Regions from separate parts of the Homo sapiens genome. Here region 2 is linked to region 1. Evidence: promoter capture Hi-C in human tissues and cell types (Jung and others, 2019). All regions are on one chromosome and are shown on one strand. The core of a region is centred on a gene start or on the middle of the fragment in contact, and the rest is flanking DNA. Distances in the headings are between cores, read along the strand shown. Region 1 holds the start of IZUMO1 (izumo sperm-oocyte fusion 1). Region 2 holds the start of TSKS (testis specific serine kinase substrate).

Region 1 (5,489 bases), core at 2,052-4,551:
CACTCTGGACATTGGCTAAGCCTTGAGAGCCAGGGAGACTTTCTGAAGTAGCCTGATCTTTCTAGAGCCAGCAGTACGTGGCTTCAGAGGCCTGGCATCTTCTGGAGAAGCTTGTGGTGTTCCTGAAGCAAATGGGTGCCCGTATCCAGAGTGATTCTAGTTGGGAGAGTTGGAGAGAAGGGGGACGTTTCTGGAACTGTCTGAATATTCTAGAACTAGCAAAACATCTTTTCCTGATGGCTGGCAGGCAGTTCTAGAAGCCACAGTGCCCACCTGCTCTTCCCAGCCCATATCTACAGTACTTCCAGATGGCTGCCCCCAGGAATGGGGAACTCTCCCTCTGGTCTACTCTAGAAGAGGGGTTACTTCTCCCCTGGGTCCTCCAAAGACTGAAGGAGCATATGATTGCTCCAGAGCAAGCATTCACCAAGTCCCCTTCTGTGTTTCTGGAGTGATTCTAGAGGGAGACTTGTTCTAGAGAGGACCAGGTTTGATGCCTGTGAAGAACCCTGCAGGGCCCTTATGGACAGGATGGGGTTCTGGAAATCCAGATAACTAAGGTGAAGAATCTTTTTAGTTTTTTTTTTTTTTTTTTGGAGACAGGGTCTCGCTCTGTTGCCCAGGCTGGAGTGCAGTGGCGTGATCTTGGCTCACTGCAACTTCCGCCTCCTGTGTTCAAGCGATTCTCCTGTCTCAGCCTCCTGAGTAGATGGGACTACAGGCACAGGCCATTATGCCTGGCTAATTTTTGTATTTTTAGTAGAGACAGGGTTTCACCATGTTGGCCAGGATGGTCTCGATCTCCTGACCTTGTCATCCACCTGTCTTGGCCTCCCAAAGTGCTGGGATTACTGGCATGAGCCACTGTGCCCAGCCCGGATATTTTTTTTTTAATTATTTATTTATTTATTTATTTATTGAGACGGAGTCTTGCTCTGTAGCCCAGGCCAGAGTGCAGTGGCGCGATCTCAGCTCACTGCAAGCTCTGCCTCCCGGGTTCATGCCATTCTGCCTCAGCCTCCTGAGTAGCTGGGACTACAGGCGCCCGCCACCACGCCCGGCTAATTTTTTTTGTATTTTTAGTAGAGACGGGGTTTCATCGTGTTAACCAGGATGGTCTCGATCTCCTGACCTCGTGATCTGCCCACCTCGGCCTCCCACAGTGCTGGGATTACCGGCGTGAGCCACCATGCCTGGCCCGGATAATTTTTTTTAATTTTTGTAGAGACGAGGTCTTGTGATATTGCCCAGGCTGTTCTTCAACTCCTGGGCTCAAGCAGTCCTCCCACCTTGGCCTCCCAGAATGCTGGGTTTATAGATGTGAGCCAGCACACCGGGCCAAGTGAAGAATCTAATGAATGTGCAACCTAATTGTAGCATCTAATGAATGTTCCACCATTGCTGGAAAAATTGAGATGGAAAACAAACCATCTCTAGTTGGCCAGCGTCTTGCTCTGTTCACAGTCTCTGGAAAAGCTGGGGTAGTTGGTGAGCAGAGCGGGACTCTGTCCAACAAGCCCCACAGCCCCTCAAAGACTTTTTTTTGTTTGTTTTGAGCAGACAGGCTAAAATGTGAACGTGGGGTGAGGGATCACTGCCAAAATGGTACAGCTTCTGGAGCAGAACTTTCCAGGGATCCAGGGACACTTTTTTTTAAAGCTCATAAACTGCCAAGAGCTCCATATATTGGGTGTGAGTTCAGGTTGCCTCTCACAATGAAGGAAGTTGGTCTTTGTCTGCAGGTGGGCTGCTGAGGGTCTGGGATCTGTTTTCTGGAAGTGTGCAGGTATAAACACACCCTCTGTGCTTGTGACAAACTGGCAGGTACCGTGCTCATTGCTAACCACTGTCTGTCCCTGAACTCCCAGAACCACTACATCTGGCTTTGGGCAGGTCTGAGATAAAACGATCTAAAGGTAGGCAGACCCTGGACCCAGCCTCAGATCCAGGCAGGAGCACGAGGTCTGGCCAAGGTGGACGGGGTTGTCGAGATCTCAGGAGCCCCTTGCTGTTTTTTGGAGGGTGAAAGAAGAAACCTTAAACATAGTCAGCTCTGATCACATCCCCTGTCTACTCATCCAGACCCCATGCCTGTAGGCTTATCAGGGAGTTACAGTTACAATTGTTACAGTACTGTTCCCAACTCAGCTGCCACGGGTGAGAGAGCAGGAGGTATGAATTAAAAGTCTACAGCACTAACCCGTGTCTCTGTAGCTTTTTTGGAGCCAGAGCCACTGTGTATGTGTGTGTGGGTTTGTGTGTGTGTGTGTGTGTGTGTGTGTGTAAGAGAGTGGAGGAAAAGGTGGGGTACTTCTGAAGACTTTTATTTTTTTTTAATTAATTTATTTTTTTTCAGAGATCGAGTCTTGCTCTGTGGCCCAGGCTGGAGTGCAGTAGTGTGATCTCGGCCCACTGCAAACTCCCACCTCTCGGATTCTGGTGCCTCAGCCTCCCAAGTAGCTGGGACTACAGACGTTCGCCACCATGCCCAGCTAATTTTTGTATTTTTAGTAGAGACGGGGTTTCACCATGTTAGCCAGGCTGGCCTCGAACTCCTGACCTCAGACAATCTGCCCGCCTCGGCCTCCCAAAGCGCTGGAATTACAAGCGTGAGCCACCGCGCCGGGCCCTGAGGATTTTTATTACTCGTGATTGGGAGTACTGTCCCTACTTAGATCTGACAGCCCCTTGTTGCTGGACTTGTGTGAGTTGTGGTCCCTGTTTTTCTGGTTCCCTGTTTCTATCACACAGGAGAGAGAGACCTTCCAGGACCCTAACGTCTGAGCCCCCAGTTGCTCACTCCTGGACTGTCAGTATTGGCCCCCAGTCCTCTCCTCCCACTGGGACCTCCGCGTGGGCAGAAGAGGCGGAGGAGGGAGCGGATTATCACTGAACTACATTTCCCGGAAAGCTATGAGGTTGGCAGCGTCAGTCAGCTACAGAGAAAGAGGCCCCAGGGCATTTTGGGAGTTGTAGTCTTAGGGCTAAAATGTCCACTTCGTGGCTCGACAGCCGTTTCCAAGGACCGCGGTGGGGGCGGCAGCGGCCTGGGGGGCCGGATCTAGCCCAAAGCCTGGGTCCTGGGGCAAGGGGAGGGGAGGAAACTGAAGGCCTGAGTCCGGTCCTTGACTCTGGAAGCCAGAGTAGTCAGGAGGCTTCCTCTTCCCTAGATGCTGGGAAAATTCTAGTCCAAAAAGGCTGCAGCCTCTGTGACGTCATGGAGCGATGGGCGGGACCTCCCTTTGTTGCAGTCCAATCAGACAGAGTTGAGTTTCTGGGTGGGGCCGAGGAAAACCCCAAGGAATATCTATAAAGGAATTCGGGCCCCTACGTGAGAAGCTCGGAGGGGGTGGTTTCAGGAGTTCCTTGTGGAGAGGGGATCGTCCGTGACTCAGACCCCGTCGAAAAGCTCTCGATTTCACGCAACCAACCTTACCCTCGTCCCCAACACAATCCTTGATTTTACCCCTGGGAAAATTAGCGTAGGTGGTCATGACCCCGGCTTCCTCTTTAAAAGCCCTCAGAACCTGGACCGGGCTCCTCAATGAACCCTAGTGTTAGAGGCCACAAATCGGGAACCAAGGTCGGGGAGCGGCTGTTTAGGGTGCATCACTGTTCAGGATGCATCGGGGCTCCTTTTTCTAAGCGGAAGGGTGCGCCCTGCAAATTGGGAGCCCGTTAGTTTTGGGGAAGGGTGAACAAGGGCCCCCTAGGTCTAGAGGACCGCATGGAGTCTCGCTTAAGTGTTAGTGGGGTCCTCAGTTCTAGGAATCTGGTATGTGTTTTGGTTTTGAAGGAGTTCCGAGTTTGATAATATCGTGGTTGGGTCTGTGTTAGATGTTTATTGGTTTGGGCATTGAATCTTCAGCTTGAGGTTCAACAGGTTTTGGGGGGCTGGCGGGGGAGTGCCTCGGTGTTGCTCTTAAGGGTTGGAGTTCAGGCTCACGTCAATCTGGGGACTTGGAAAATTCCACAGTTTGGGATTTTGGGAAGGGGCGCATGGGGTTGGGAGATTCCAGGTTCTGAGTTTGGGGACTTATGAGTGATTCCTGTTTAATAGTTTTTCTGATCTCTCAGTTGGGGGATTCAGTGAGAACCCTAAATTTTGGGTCCCCTGGATTGGGGCTCAGTTTCACACTTCGGAGGCATTTGATGAAGGACATAGGTCCTCTTTATTTGGAGATTTCCTGAAGATCCTCTTTTCGAGGTTTGCGGACCCCATGGATAGGCGGCCCAGTGGGATTTCTTAAGATGGATTTTGGCTTTTCTCCGTTTAGCGTTCTCCTGCTCTCGGTTTGGGGTGAGAGCACCCTTCCTAACGGTCTTCGGGAACTGTGCGCGCCGGCTGCAATGGGGCCGCATTTTACCCTCCTGTGTGCGGCGCTGGCCGGTTGCTTGCTTCCTGCCGAGGGGTGTGTTATATGTGACCCGTCTGTCGTGCTGGCGCTAAAGTCCCTGGAGAAAGATTACCTGCCTGGCCACCTGGATGCGAAGCATCACAAAGCCATGATGGAAAGGGTAGAGAATGCCGTGAAGGATTTCCAGGAACTGTCGCTTAATGAGGATGCCTATATGGGGGTCGTTGGTGAGGGCAGGGGGGACCACGGACCCCTGGGTCCTGGGAAAGGAGGGAGATAAGACCAGGGGAAGGAAGAGGCTGACAGCAGGGTCTCCGGGATTCGGGAATGGAGAAGGCTGAGATGCAGATTCCGAGGTTCCCCGAGGCTAGTAAATACCGTTTTCCCTATCCTCGGCTGGCAATTTTATGTAATAAAACTACAACTCCCAGAAGGCAACGGGCGGCTGAGTCCTTAACCAGGCCTATCTTTGCCCAGTGGCCTCATGGGTATTGTAGTTTCTAAGATTAGGCGCGCCAATGAGACAGTAAGGCTGGAATCTGGGGTTATATCTCCTCTGACAGATGAGGCCACACTGCAAAAGGGGTCCTGGAGTTTGCTGAAGGATCTGAAACGCATCACAGACAGTGATGTAAAAGGTAAATGCATCAAGGGGGTGGGAGTCCCGAATCTCTCAGAGAAGCCAGCGTTAGTGATGCCTGGTCTCTTGGTCAGATACTAGGCTGTGGACCCAGACCGCCTAGATTCCAATGCCTGCTCTGCCACTTCCTAGCTGTACGGCCTTGAGCAAAGGACTTTGAAGCTCCCTTGGCTCTAAAATGCTTCCTCAGTTGTTCAGTTTAAATGTGTATTGCTGGCCGGGCACGGTAGCTCAGGCCTGTAATCCTGGCACTTTGGAAGGCTGAGGCAGGCAGATTACTTGAGCTCAGTAGTTCAAGACCAGCCTGGCCAACATGGTGAAACCTTGTCTCTACAAAAAATAGACATATGTATACATATTAGCTGGGCATGGTGGTGTGTGCCTGTAGTCCTAGCTACTTGGGGGGTTGAGGCGGGGGGATTGCTTGAGTCCAGGAGTTTGAGGCTTCAGTGAGCCACGATTACACCACACACTCCAGCCTGGGTGGCAGG
Region 2 (5,489 bases), core at 2,990-5,489, 1.0 Mb before region 1:
TTGGGAATCCCTCTAACCCCATCGTTTGTAAGATCCCCCAGCTTTTCAGTCTTTCCCAGGGGACACCTCTATGCTCCCATCCCCGGGACCTCACTGGCTTCCTCCCCTTTCAAGCCCTCCCGGACCCCTCTAGCTACTCCGTGTCGTCACCTCAAGAGGCACTCTATGACACCCCAAGCCCCTACGTGCCCCCCACTCTAAAGTTCTTCCTGGGGCCCATCTATGCTGTCCCTATACGGCCGCAGAGGCTTTTGATCCCCCGGGTCCCTCTGTGATCCCCAAACCCCTCAATTTCACGCTCCCCCCTCCCCCGCGTCTCCAGTGTCCCCCGGCCGCGCGCTCACAGTTCCGGATGTCGGAGATGAACACCGCGAGCCCCCGCATCCCATCGCCCTTGGACACGGCCGGCATGATGGCGGTGGTGTCGGCTCCAGGCCTGGCCGGACAGGGCACAGAGCAGCGGGGGCTGGCAAGCGGGGACCGGGCGGAAAGGACCCCAGGCAGCGCCAAGGAGCCGAGCCGGCCGCGGGGAGGGCTGGCTGGCGGGCGGGCGGGCGGGCTGGCAGGCCGTGGCACCGCCCCCTGCCCCTCCCCTCCGCCCGCGGTCCGGAGCTCTGAGCCGCCCACTGGCTTGAGCTCCTGCCGCTCACAGGCGGGTTTCTCCCCCACTTCCTCTCTCATTGGCCGCCAAGCAAAGGCACGACGCTACGATTGGCCCAGTGTTCCGCTATTTCCGTTTGGGAGCTGGGGAGGGGGGGGAGGAGGCGTTGCCCGAGAGACGGGCGGGGTTCGATTGCGTATCATGGGCCCGCCCCCTCCGCGCGGCCAGGTCAAACACTGATTGGATCTAGCGGCTCTCCAAGGAGGAAGGGAGGGACGTGAAGGAAGGCGGGGAACGGTCCTAGGAGGCGGGACTTAGGTTGACTGGGACCAATGAACGGGTAGACCTGCCCCGCAGGCGTCGCGGATTGGCGAGATCTGTCCTACTTCAGCCCTCCATTGGGCGGCTGTGGGGCGGGCGGAAGGCGAAGATCAGTAGAGAAGGAAAGAGGGGAGGGTGTCACTCCGCTCGGCTGGGATAGGTGGAGCGACGCCTGCAATTCCCTGCTGCAGAGAAGGGGTTGGGCGAGGCAAGAGAGCGTGCGGTGTTTACTGCGCAAGCGTCTCCGTGTTCCCTTTCTCCCTCCACTGTCACCCCCGACTGCTGAAATCCTCTTCTAGGAAGCCTTCCTCCCCTCCCCCCTTCTCTGCAGCCAACGTGTCGGGACTTGAGTTGTCAGGAGACCTAGAATCTCAGAGTGAAAAACAGTAATTCAAGGCTAGTCCCATTAAGCAGAAGTTAAAACTTAGGTCGAGAGGGCGAATGACTTGCCCAGGGCCACACAGCTTGGAAGTGAAAAAGCAGAAATAAACGTAAACCGTATCTTGGCTTACTTTTCAATATATGTTGCCTTTTTTTTTTTGTCCAACCGCAGTGTCTCTCGGGCAGCCTCCATTGTAGCAGATATCAAACCAAAATTGATTGTCTCCTCCAGACTGGGAACTCCTTCTGGGCAAGAATGGGACCTGGCCTTGAACAGTTTCAACAACATTTGTTAAAAGAAGAAATAGGTGAATCTGCTTTGGCCCAGCCCCAGCCTCCATCCCCAACCCCCAGCTCCCCAGAGACTCTTTGGTAAACTGGCTTTGGGGAAGGCAAAACGGCCAGAACTCCCAACGCCCCAGGAGATTGAGAAATTTGGGACAAAGGGAACTGGAAGAGTCCATTTCTGTCACCTGTAGGAACAAAACTCCACCCCATCAGCCTTTTCTAATCTCAGAAGCCAAGAATTCCTGGAATGAGCCTTGGGGGTGTGTTCTGGACCTTTGGAATGGCCATTCTGAATCCTGGGAGATGGAAAGGAGGTTGAGAAGAGCCCACCTTCCAGGCTCAATGGATGCGTCCATTTGGGTTTCCAGGAATGGGGCCTGGGAAAGTCCATTTTGGATTCCAGGAGGACAGAAATTGCTCAGCTGTTTTAGTCACAGGGAGAGTCCATTTCTAATATGGGAGGGGGGTGCTGTTTGCCCCTGAAGAACATAAAGCAGCCCCATTAAACACAAGAAAAATTATTAATCCCAGGACTTGAAGTTCTTTTTTTTTTTTTTTGAGATGGAGTCTCGCTCTGTCGCCCAGGCTGGGGTGCAGTGGCGCGATCTCAGCTCACTGCAACCTCCGCCTCCCGGGTTCACGCCATTCTCCTGCCTCAGCCTCCCAAGTAGCTGGGACTACAGGCGCACGCCACCATGCCTGGCTAATTTTTTGTGTTTTTAGTAGAGACGGGGTTTCACCGTGTTAGCCAGGATGGTCTCGATCTCCTGACCTTGTGATCCGCCCACCTCGGCCTCCCAAAGTGCTGGAATTACAGGCGTGAGCCACTGCGCCCGGCCTTTTTTTTTTTTCTTTTTTTTGAGACAGAGTCTCTCTCTGTCCCCCAGGCTGGAGTTCAGTGACTCAATCTCGGCTCACTGTAACCTCTTCCTCCCGAGTTAAAGCGATTTTCCTGCCTCAGCCTCCTAAGTAGCTGGGATTACAGGCACCCGTCATCATGCTCGCCTAATTTTTGTATTTTTGTAGAGACAGTGTTTCACTATGTTGGCCAGGCTGGTCTTGAACTCCTAACCTCAGGTGATCCGCCCGCCTCGGCCTCCCAAAGTGCTGGGATTACAGGTGTGAGACACCGCGCCCAGCCAGGAGTTCTTTATTATAGAAAGATTAAGTGTTCCAAGAACTGGAGTCCATTCATGACCAGGAAGAAGTACTTTCTCCCTGGGGATAACAGCATTTAAAATGTCTATTAGCAGTGATGTTTGAACTAGTCTTTTTGAGAAGTGTGAAGAGAACAGGAAAAGTCTGTCCCTAAATAGCAGGGCAGTGCTCGCTTCGACAGCACATGTATTAACATTGGAACGATACAGAGAAGATTAGCATGGGCCCTGCGCAAAGACCACATGCAAATTTGTGACATGTTCCATATATTTTTTAAATACTTTGGGCGGGCGGGGCGCAGTGGCTCACACCTGTAATTCCAATGCTTTGGGAGGCTGAAGTGGGCAGATCACGAGGTCAGGAGTTGGAGACTAGCCTAGCCAACACAGTGAAACCCTGTCTCTACTAAAAATACAAAAAAAAAATTAGATGGGTGTGGTGGCAGGTACCTGTAGTCCCAGCTACTCAGGAGGCTGAGGCAGGAGAATCGCTTGAAACTGGGAGGTAGAGGTTGCAATGAGCCAAGATCACGCCACTGCACTCCAGCCTGGGTGTCAGAGCGAGACTCCATCTAAAAAAAAAAAAAAAAAATTATAGCGGAGCATGGTGGCTCATGTCTGTAATCCCACACTTTGGGAGGCTAAGGCGGGTGGACCATTTGAGGTCGGGAGTTTGAGACCAACTTGGCCAACATGGTGAAACCCGTCTCTACTAAAAATACAAAAATTAGCCGGACATTGTGGCCAGCGCCTGTAGTCCCAGCTACTGGGGAGGCTGAGGCAGGAGAATCGGTTGAACCCCGGGAGGTGGAGGTTGCAATGAGCTGAGATCGCGCCACTGAACTCCAGCCTCCATGACAGAGAGAGACTCTGTCTCAAAAAAAATAAAAAGTATTAAAGAAAATAATAAATAAATAAACGGGGGAGGGGGATACCACCCTCTGTCCTGCCCCAACTCTCTACCTTCCTCTCCTCCCTCACCTTCTACCCTGACCCCGAGGCCCACCGCACCTAGCTTTCTTTTGTTGATCTACCTGTATATTGCCTTTCCCCCGACCCCGACGCCCCATAGAATATGAGACCCTCCAGGTCAGGGTCTGGATCTCAGCCCTCTTCGACCACAGTCTCTCAAACCCCAGCCAATTGTCAAATCCAGGAAGCTACATGAAGAATCAAGAACAAGTGCACAGGGCTGTGTGACCCCACGCTTAGTCTCAGGGAGAGGGAAGTTGGACCTCTCCCAAGAATCCGTGGGCCGACCCATTGTTAAGTTACAGGCTAGCATGAATCCATCCACTGGAGCTCTGAAGACGGGGGGCACATTGGGCATGTAACTAGAATCCTGAACAGGAGGAGTCCACTGAGAACCCTAGGGGAATGACCTGGGCCAGCATCTCTCCCTACCCTGTGCCCCCCACTCACTGGGGCCCAGTGGTTGGGTCCTTTGTGAGGCAGGCTGAGGGGACAGTGGATCCTGAGGGTCTGTGGTCACAGTAGGTAGGAAGTCTCAGAGGAAGGAGCCCCTCCCTGGGAGCCAGACCCCCACACCATGGCGAGCGTGGTGGTGAAGACGATCTGGCAGTCCAAAGAGATCCATGAGGCCGGGGACACCCCCACGGGGGTGGAGAGCTGCTCCCAGCTAGTCCCAGAGGCTCCCCGGAGGGTGACCAGCCGGGCCAAGGGGATCCCGAAGAAAAAGAAGGCCGTGTCGTTCCACGGGTGGGTTTGTTGCACACTGTCAGGGATGGTTCTAATGCCCAGCACTACCTCCAACAGAGCAGGAGTCCGACTGTGGGTGCTAGAGGAAGGGGAGGGGGAAAAGCCAGCAGGTCGGGGGCAGGAAAGAGGGCAGCAGTGAAGAGACATCAAGTCACAGGGAGGTAGAGAGGAAGAAGGTAATGGGGATGGATGGAGGGAGGAAGAAGGTAATGGGGATGGATGGAGAGAGGAAAAAGCCAGTGGGGAGGGAAGAAGGAGAAGGGAGGCTAGTGAATGAAGAAGAAAGTAGGTGGCAGAGAAGGGAGGAGAAAGTAGGCAGCGGGGAAGGAGAAGAAGAAAGTAGACAGTGGTGGTCGGGCACGGTGGCTCACGCCTGTAATCCCAGCACTTTGGGAGGCCGAGGCAGGTGGATCATGAGGTCAGGAGTTCAAAACCAGCTTGGCCAACATGGTGAAAAGCCATCTCTACTAAAAATACTAAAATTAGCTGGGCGTGATGGCACATGCCTATAACCCCAGCTACTCAGGAGGCTGAGGCAGGAGAATTGCTTGAACTGGGACCCGCAGTCGGAGGTTGCAGTGAGCTGAGATCGCGCCACTGCACTCCAGCCTGGGCAACAGAGTGAGACTCTGTCTCAAAAAAAAAAAAAAAAGAAAGAAAGAAAAAAGAAAGAAAGTAGGCAGCACAGGGAAGGAGAATAAAGTAGGCAGCGGGGACAGAGAAGGGAGAAACTTATATACAGTGAGGGTGGAGTCACAGGGGGTGAGGTATGGAGAAAGGAAGGCAGGAGGGCCCAGACACCCTGGGGCTGCTTCTCCACTTTTCTGCCTGTTTCTTCTCTGCAGGGTGGAGCCCCAGATGTCCCATCAGCCCATGCACTGGTGCCTGAACCTCAAACGGTCCTCGGCCTGCACCAACGTGTCACTGCTCAACCTGGCCGCCATGGAGCCCACTGACTCCACGGGGACAGACTCCACAGTGGAAGACCTCAGCGGCCAACTCACACTGGCTGGGCCCCCTGC

Evidence for each region. Contacts are between HindIII fragments. The study calls those that stand out against the background at their distance.
Region 2: the fragment with the promoter of TSKS here is called in contact with the fragment with the promoter of IZUMO1 in region 1 in 1 of the 25 tissues and cell types used here (lymphoblastoid cells).

The regions. Positions count from the first base shown.
Region 1 is chr19:48,744,721-48,750,209 of GRCh38, reverse strand. It overlaps IZUMO1 (izumo sperm-oocyte fusion 1), which reads left to right and starts at 3,301. Exons shown (of 10, transcript NM_182575.3): 1 at 3,301-3,775; 2 at 4,278-4,585; 3 at 4,922-4,996. The coding sequence starts at 4,351. FUT1 (fucosyltransferase 1 (H blood group)) reads left to right here. Exons shown (of 2, transcript NM_001384359.1): 2 at 1-2,199. The coding sequence ends at 26. RefSeq lists enhancers at 2,235-3,020, 3,021-3,806 and a cis regulatory region at 4,582-5,102. The HindIII fragment of the contact is 12,211 bases long and covers 1-5,043 here.
Region 2 is chr19:49,762,056-49,767,544 of GRCh38, reverse strand. It overlaps TSKS (testis specific serine kinase substrate), which reads left to right and starts at 4,239. Exons shown (of 11, transcript NM_021733.2): 1 at 4,239-4,467; 2 at 5,313-5,489. The coding sequence starts at 4,298. AP2A1 (adaptor related protein complex 2 subunit alpha 1) reads right to left here and starts at 544. Exons shown (of 23, transcript NM_130787.3): 1 at 345-544. The coding sequence starts at 411. It also overlaps the pseudogene RNU6-841P. RefSeq lists enhancers at 80-848, 902-1,879, 5,486-5,489 and a silencer at 410-989. The HindIII fragment of the contact is 39,317 bases long and covers 1-5,489 here.